Linked DNA regions of Homo sapiens: region 2 is linked to region 1. Evidence: promoter capture Hi-C in 16 types of primary human blood cells and fetal thymus (Javierre and others, 2016). All regions are on one chromosome and are shown on one strand. Each heading gives the region's core, a stretch centred on a gene start or on the middle of the fragment in contact. The rest is flanking DNA. Distances are from core to core; before and after follow the strand shown. Region 1 holds the start of ZNF428 (zinc finger protein 428). Region 2 holds the start of KMT5C (lysine methyltransferase 5C).

Region 1 (3,367 bases), core at 712-3,211:
AAATAAAAACAGAAGACATCCAATTAATTTTTTTGTTTGTTTTTGGGTTTTTGTTGCGGAGATGGTGTCTCACTATGTTGCGAAGGCTGCTGTCAAATTCCTGGCTCAAACAATCCTCCTGCCTTGGCCTCCCACTTCCCAAAGTGCTGGGATTACAGGCATGAGCTACCACACCTGGCCCTTATTTATTTATTTATTTAATTTTCTTTTTTGGGACGGAGTGTCACTCTGTCGCCCAGGTTGGAGCGCAGTAGCGCGATCTCGGCTCACTGCAACCTCTGCCTCCTGGGTTCAAGCGATTATCCTGCCCCAGCCTCCCAAGTAGCTGGGACTACAGGCGCGTGCCACCATGCCCGGCTTTTTTTTTTTTTTTTTTTTTTTTTTTGAGACGGAGTCTTGCTCTGTCGCCCAGGCTGGAGTGCAGTGGCACGATCTCGGCTCACTGCAAGCTCCGCCTCCTGGGTTCACGCCATTCTCCTGCCTCAGCCTTCCGAGTAGCTGGGACTACAGGCGCCTGCCACCACGCCCGACTATTTTTTGTATTTTTAGTAGAGATGGGGTTTCACCGTGTTAGCCAGGATGATCTCGATCTCCTGACCTCGTGATCCACCCGCCTCGGCCTCCCAAAGTGCTGGGATTACAGGCGTGAGCCACCGCGCCCAGCCTACTTATTTATATTTTTTAAGAGACAGGGTCTCGCTCAGTTGCCCAGGCTGGAGTGCAGTAGGGTGATCTGTAGGAAAGGGGCTTCCAGGCCTTAACTCATGTACTCCCCCATAACCAGGTTGGGAGGTTAGCTCACTGTAACCTCAAACTCCTGTGCTCAAGGTACCCTACTAGCCCCTAGGAGAGCAGCTGGGACTACAGGTATGCGCCACCATGCCAGGCTTAATTTTTACTTTTTTTTTTTTTTTTTTTTTTTGTAGAGACGGGGGTCTCACTATATTGCCCAGGCTGGTCTTGAACTCCTGGTCTCAAGCGATCCTCCTGCCTTAGCCTCCCAAAGTATTGGTATCACTGCAACTAGCCCAAAGAATTAATATAGCTATGTTCCATGTGATATTTGGGACATACTTTTCTAAAAGGTTGTATCTTTTGGATATAATTGTTTATCTGAAATTCAAATTTAACTAGACATTGTATATTTTATACGGCAACCACACACCTGGGACAATCAAGACATTCCCTGAAGTTACCAGGAGACAATGCCCATCAGCCTACACTTTTCCAAGCCCACGTCACACAAGGCCCCTTCCAGAGTATTCCAGACGTCAGGTAGGGCCATCCCTTGGTTCACAAGTCCCACTCCTACCACGCCTATGGCAGCCAAACTGAAAGGCAAACACAGTGCTGGAGACCCCACAATGCCCTGGGCCTATAGCAGTCAATTCCCAAGATGCCCCGCGTGAACACAATAGGCACCCGTTCCAATGCTCGAGCAAAGAGACCAGGGCAAAACCTTCCACTACGGGACAATAACGGCCAGTTCCCACAATTCGTTGTGGCAGTTCTTCCCAGGATGCCTTAGGCCTATAGCGACCACCTTCCCAGACTCCCCGTGTGGAAGCGCTCCAAGCCTCCAGGACGGTCAGCGGCAGGTGTGGGATAAAAGGAACCGGTCTCGACAAGGATCTGGGACACTCTTTCCCAGGATGCACCAGGCCTACGACTAGCGGACCGACTCCCACAGCGCTTCAAGGCGGAGCGCTCGGTTCTCCCAGGATGCCCCAGGGCGGCACAAACGCGTAGGGGGAGAAAAAGAAGCCCTCGGGTCACCACGGCCCCAGACCGCCGGCTCCCCGGTGACGGGAGTCGTCGCTCCCATCATGCAGCGGGGCCGTAGCGCCCGCTTCCCGGCATGCCTCGCGCACCCCTGCCCGGGACACTCACCGGCGCCGGCGGCCCCCGCTCCGGCTCTGCGGCGGCGGCTGCACGCCCAGCCTCTGCGCCTGCGTCGCAAGTAGGGTAGGACAGCGCGCAGGGGGCGTGAAGAGCCTAGGGCGCTTGCGCGGCGAGACGGACTAGTCCTGTAGCGCTGTGGGAAGAGGGGCTATGCGCGTCGGGCCGTCGACGAGACCCGCGCGGGGGGCGCCGTGCTTTGCCCCTCGCTGCCTGGGTTTACTTGGTACAGCCCGCGGCCCAAAGGAACAAGAAGCTGAAGGGTTCGCGCGTGCGTGTGCGGGGCAGGAACGCGCCTTACAAAACTGGGATGCGCTGGGGGTGGAGGGCGCTAGTTCGGACTGGATCCTGGGCCCGAGGCCTGCTTATTTGCATAATCCTAGCGCGGGACAATGAAAGGCCTCCCGCACTGGAAGGAGTGATTTGCATATTCCCCGGAGGGGCCTTACTCCAGAGCGCAGTGATTAGCATATGGCGGGGGCAACCTGAGCAAAGCGCATGCGCGCAGGGACTGCAGACTGACGCGAAGTGGGTAGCCTTGTCTTCGTAGGGGATCAGTTTGCATCCTGAGAGAGGGCACGAGGGCCAGGACCCCTCCCAACCAGGATAAAGGTTTATTGATCTCCTAGGTGTCAGGCCCCATGCTGGCGGATTCTGTGGTTTCTGCAGTGAACCATACTCCTGTACTCACGGCACCCCAGTCGAAGGAGATACGCACCTAATTAGACAACTACTACCCAGAAGGTCAGACCTGGAGTGAGGAACACAGGGGGCTGTGGGAGCCTAAGAGGCGCTTGCCCCGGCCTCTGGTTCTAGAAAGACTTCCAGGAGGTGGTGATCCTTAAGCCAAGTACGAATAGGAGCCAACTAGAATGGGAATGGGTCTGGCAGAATGAACTGCAAGCGCCAAGGCCCAGAGGCCAAAAAAAAAAAAAAAAAAATAGAAGCGCATGTTTTGATTGAGGAAGCAAGAGCAGCTTAGTATGCCTAGAACCTAACTGGAGACGGGAAATGGTTCTATAGACGATGTTAGAGTTCAACTATGGCTACATTCCAGTCTTCCTGTAAGTGACTTTGTCACATTCTGGCTTAAAACTCCCCCAAAGGGATCCCATTAGGAAAAAAAAAAAATCCAAAAATCTTTATCATGGCCTCAGGGCTATACACCTGGTCTGGCCGTGCTTATCTTTCTGACCCCACCTACTTCCTCCTCCCTCCATTTCTGTCCAGCTCCACCTTACCCCAAACTCTTTACCAGCTCGGGCCTCTGCTCTTGCCGTTCCCTCCGCCTGAAAATGCTTTTCCCTCTGACCTTTGAATACCTACTCTTGTGCTCACCATTCATATCTTGGTACAGATGTCAATCTGAGAGGCTTTTCCTGATCTCTCCATAATAGCACTTACACATTTGACTGGAGTTATGGATAAATCGGGATTGGCCATGAGTTGGTGGTGGTTGTAACTGGCA
Region 2 (3,737 bases), core at 95-2,594, about 12 Mb after region 1:
CTCTCTCTCTCTCTCTCTCTCACACACACACACACACACACACACACACACACCAAAACACCAAAAACAGCACACCAAAACAGCACCTACTCTGTGGCATGCATTGTTTTAAGTGCCCACGATCTATAGCTGTACAGTGGAGCGCATGTCTGACAGTGATCCTATATGTGTAGACACACAAGCGCCTACATTGTGTTACCGGACAGTAACATGCTGCACAGCTGTGTGGCCCAGGAGCCGCCGGCCACCTTACAGCCCAGGTGCCAGCAGCCCTGCCACGTAGGTGTGAGTGATGTTGCTCTAGGATGCTGGCAGGATGACGACATCGCCTGAGCACGCACTGCCCAGATGGTATCAGTGTCGTTAAGGGAAGAATGGCTGTGGCGAAACAAACAAACAAGCAAACAAAGACCGCCTGTTCTGAGTGTGGAGCTTATTATTCTCGGCGTAATTATGATGAATTGTTAGTTACGTTTGCCTCTAGGATTGAGGTAGGGGGGGTGATCCCAATTAGGGGGTGCCCCAGGGGAGCGCCCCAGGAGTCAGGGCTTGTCTCAAAAGTCCCCACTCCTCCCTCAGCCTCCCCTCCCTCCATCCGACCCCGTTCATATCGCGGGAAGGTCCCACAGAGTGCGTGTGGATACTCCCAAAACGCAACGGTGTAAACGGGGAGGGAGGGAGAGAGACTGAGGAGCCCTTTGTAGCCAGGCAGAGCTGTCAATAAAGTTTCGTCGCCTTGGTAACCGCAGGCCTCGCGGGGCGGGAGGGGAGAGGGATGGCGGTGCGCGCGCATTCACCGCCTCCCTCCCGCCGGGTCTGGCTTTCTCCCTCCTGTGGCCGAAGCTTTCCTCGGAGAAATAGAAGAGGGAGGCCGCGACTCTATGGTGATGGACGGAGGCCTTACCCAATGGAAAGAGGAGCTGTCCCAAGGCCAGGCAATCATATACGACTACTGGAGCTGGCAGAGCCCGCCCTCTTTCCACTTGGACCTGAATAACCCGACCCAAACCGAGTTTCGCCCGGAGAGACTGCGCTTTCGGCCAATGAGTGCGTCGATTTCGAGCCCCAGTGTGAGCGAAGGCGGGACAAGTCTCCATGGCAGCGACTAAAGGACAGCGATGTGAACCACTGACAACAGTTCGCGGCGTTTGACGGCGGCGGGGGCGTGGCGGGGTTTTATCTGTGTATTGACGAGAGCCGGGCGCGGAGGGAAAGAGTGGGGCTTGGCCAATGGGAGCGCCGTGAGCTTCGTAGCAACGGAGGAGTGGCGGTGGCTGTGGCCAATAGAAAGCCTCAGTGGCCTTGGCGGGGCTGGCCCGGAGAGCAGATGGGAGGTGCGGCGACAGTGTTTGACGAGAGCCGAAGGAGGCTGTGGGAGGTGTTGGCGGCGGCGGCGCGGGCGCCTGAGGAGGAGGAGGAGAAGCGGGTGAGGGGCGGCGCGGGGCCCGATCTCTGAGCCCCTTCACGGCCCCAGCCCCGCGCCGCCTTGGCTCCCCAGTCGCCCCCTGCCCCGACTGCCCCCCACCCCGCCCGGCCCCTCCTCGTGTCCAGGCGCCCACGTCTCCCGGCCCCTCGCCGGGCCTCGGGCTCCGCGGCACTGCAGCCTCCTTCCTGTGCTTCCTCACCCGGGCCCTGACCCCCTTCTTACGTCCACGGCCCTCCCTGCATCCTCAGGGCCTCTCCCTGACCTCTTGTCACTCTCCAGGCCTCTCCCTGCACCCCCCAGGGCCTTTCCCTGACCTCACCCTCCAGGCCTCTCCCTGCACCCCCAGGTCTCTCCCTGCACCCTCAGGGCCTCTCCCTGACCCTTCTCTCACCCCCGGGACCTCCCTGCACTCCCAGGGCCAATCCCCGACCTCCTCTCACCCTCCAGGCCTCCTTCTGGACCCTCTAGGTCTTTCTGTGCCCTAGAACCTCTCCCTGACCCCTCTGTCCCTCTCCTGGCACTCCCTGGACCCTGAGGTCGGCCTCTGACCCTCCAGGTCCCTTGCCCTGGGCTCTCACCGCCTACCCAGGCGCCTCCCTGGGTCCCCAGGCCCTTCCCTAGGGTCTCCCTTTCCTGGATCCCCCAGGACCCCACCAAGCCCGTTTGGATCCCTGGGCCCCTGTCCGCCCTCTCAGGCCCTTCACTCACTGGACACCCAGGATCTTCTCCGCCATCCCTGGACCGCCCCCCGACCCAGGTCTCCCGTCTGGCTCCTCCCTGAGTCCCTAGGCCATTCCCCGCTCTCTGTCCTCCCTGGCACCCCCATCCCTTCCTCACACCCCTCTGAGCGCCCCCAGGCCCGGCTGCAGCCTTCTCCCTCCCACAGCCCCCTGCCGTGCCCACCGCTGTGCGTTTCTCTCCTTGCCCCCAGCCCCCTCTCCAGCTTCCCCGCTGTCCCTGGCGTCCTCCTGCAGCGCCCCCTCTTTCTCTCCCGCAGCCTCGCAGTCTGTCCCCGACCCCTCCACAGCCGTCTCTGCAGCTCCCGCTCCTTGCCCTGCCCCATCTCCTCCTCTCCTGGGCGCGGATGAGCCTCGAGCGCCGTGGTGCGGGGACGAGGCTGGCCCTCCGTCCGGGTTAGGGGTTTGGGTGGTTTTCTTCATCTCTCCGTTCTCTCCTGGCTCCGCTTTAAAAAAATGTTTTTGTAAATATTGACCTGTGCTGCCTCCCCATAGTCTTCCTTTGCTCCCCTCCCCACCCCCGCTTTTGTCCTCTGAGCCCCCCTCCCCTGGAATCCTTGGAGAGGGAGCAGGTGCTGGGATCCCTCCCCTGCCCTCCCTCCCGTCACCCGCCTCCAGGCTGCCTGGGGCTTCACCCGGAGCCTCCTGACCACTCCCGAAGGCTGCCGGGGAGGCAGGGGGCGGAGACCGAGGCTGGGTCGAGGTGGGGGTGGAGGGCGGGACCTCGGGCTGGCGGGAAGCTTTGACTTTTCCTCCTTGAGGGCTAGAGGTGAAGCGGCTCCCCACGGTGCTAAGCCTTTAGGGTGATCCCGGCTGCCAATCAGTCAGCCTTCTCTGGGCCCAAAGAGATGTGTGTGTGTAGGGGGTCTCTGTACATATGGGCAGGGGCATCTGCGTGTGTCAGTCTGAGTGTGCATGGGTGTGCATGTGGGGGTTGTGTGTTTAGGGGGGATCTGTGTCTGCGCTGCGGAGCAAGAGCAAGAGCTAAGGCGATGGCTGACATGGCTCTGGGCTTTCCCTACTCTCAGAAGTACTTGTTGCATTCCATCTTCGCCAGCGGCCTGGTGAAGTCAGCACTGCTTTTCTCCCCATTTTGCAGATGAGATCGTGGGGCTCACCAGCGTCCCCCATGGCTTCTGAGTAGCGTGGGAGTGGAGTCAGCACCAAGCCAGGCTCCCCGCGCCTGCCTTGCCCTCACCTGCTCCTGCTCTCTGCCAGAGGCAGCATGGTCCGCAGGGCACCATGGGGCCCGACAGAGTGACAGCACGAGAACTGTGCGAGAACGACGACCTGGCCACCAGCCTCGTCCTGGACCCCTACCTCGGTTTCCGCACCCATAAGATGAACGTCAGGTGAGGTGGCCTGGGGGCGAGGGTGGGCCCGAGGGGTCAGGACCCCTCCCCTTGCACCGCTGCCGCCCCTCGGCCCTCTCCTTAGCCTGGTCCTCCCCTCAGCTCCAAGTGGGGGTTGGGGCCGGGGCCCGGGAAGGCCCTGGGACCCAGGCATGCCCTCTCCCCCAGCCCTGTGCCCCCCCTGCGGCGACAGCAGCACCTGCGCTCAGCGCTGGAAACTTT

Evidence for each region. The method cuts DNA at HindIII sites, captures the fragments that hold promoters and counts their contacts. A CHiCAGO score of 5 or more calls a contact.
Region 2: a contact is called between the fragment with the promoter of KMT5C here and the fragment with the promoter of ZNF428 in region 1, in 1 of 17 cell types (naive CD8 T cells). The highest score is 6.4, in naive CD8 T cells.

Annotation. Positions count from the first base shown.
Region 1 is chr19:43,617,668-43,621,034 of GRCh38, forward strand. ZNF428 (zinc finger protein 428) reads right to left here and starts at 1,962. Exons shown (of 3, transcript NM_182498.4): 1 at 1,891-1,962. LOC105372411 (a long non-coding RNA gene) reads left to right here and starts at 1,394. Exons shown (of 4, transcript XR_001753942.2): 1 at 1,394-1,965. RefSeq lists an enhancer at 1,321-1,971 and a silencer at 1,776-2,015. The HindIII fragment of the contact is 4,307 bases long and covers 1-3,367 here.
Region 2 is chr19:55,338,532-55,342,268 of GRCh38, forward strand. KMT5C (lysine methyltransferase 5C) reads left to right here and starts at 1,345. Exons shown (of 9, transcript NM_032701.4): 1 at 1,345-1,426; 2 at 3,263-3,515; 3 at 3,684-3,737. The coding sequence starts at 3,406. RefSeq lists enhancers at 1-263, 264-1,037, 1,347-1,416 and silencers at 1,437-1,496, 2,742-2,921. The HindIII fragment of the contact is 2,060 bases long and covers 842-2,901 here.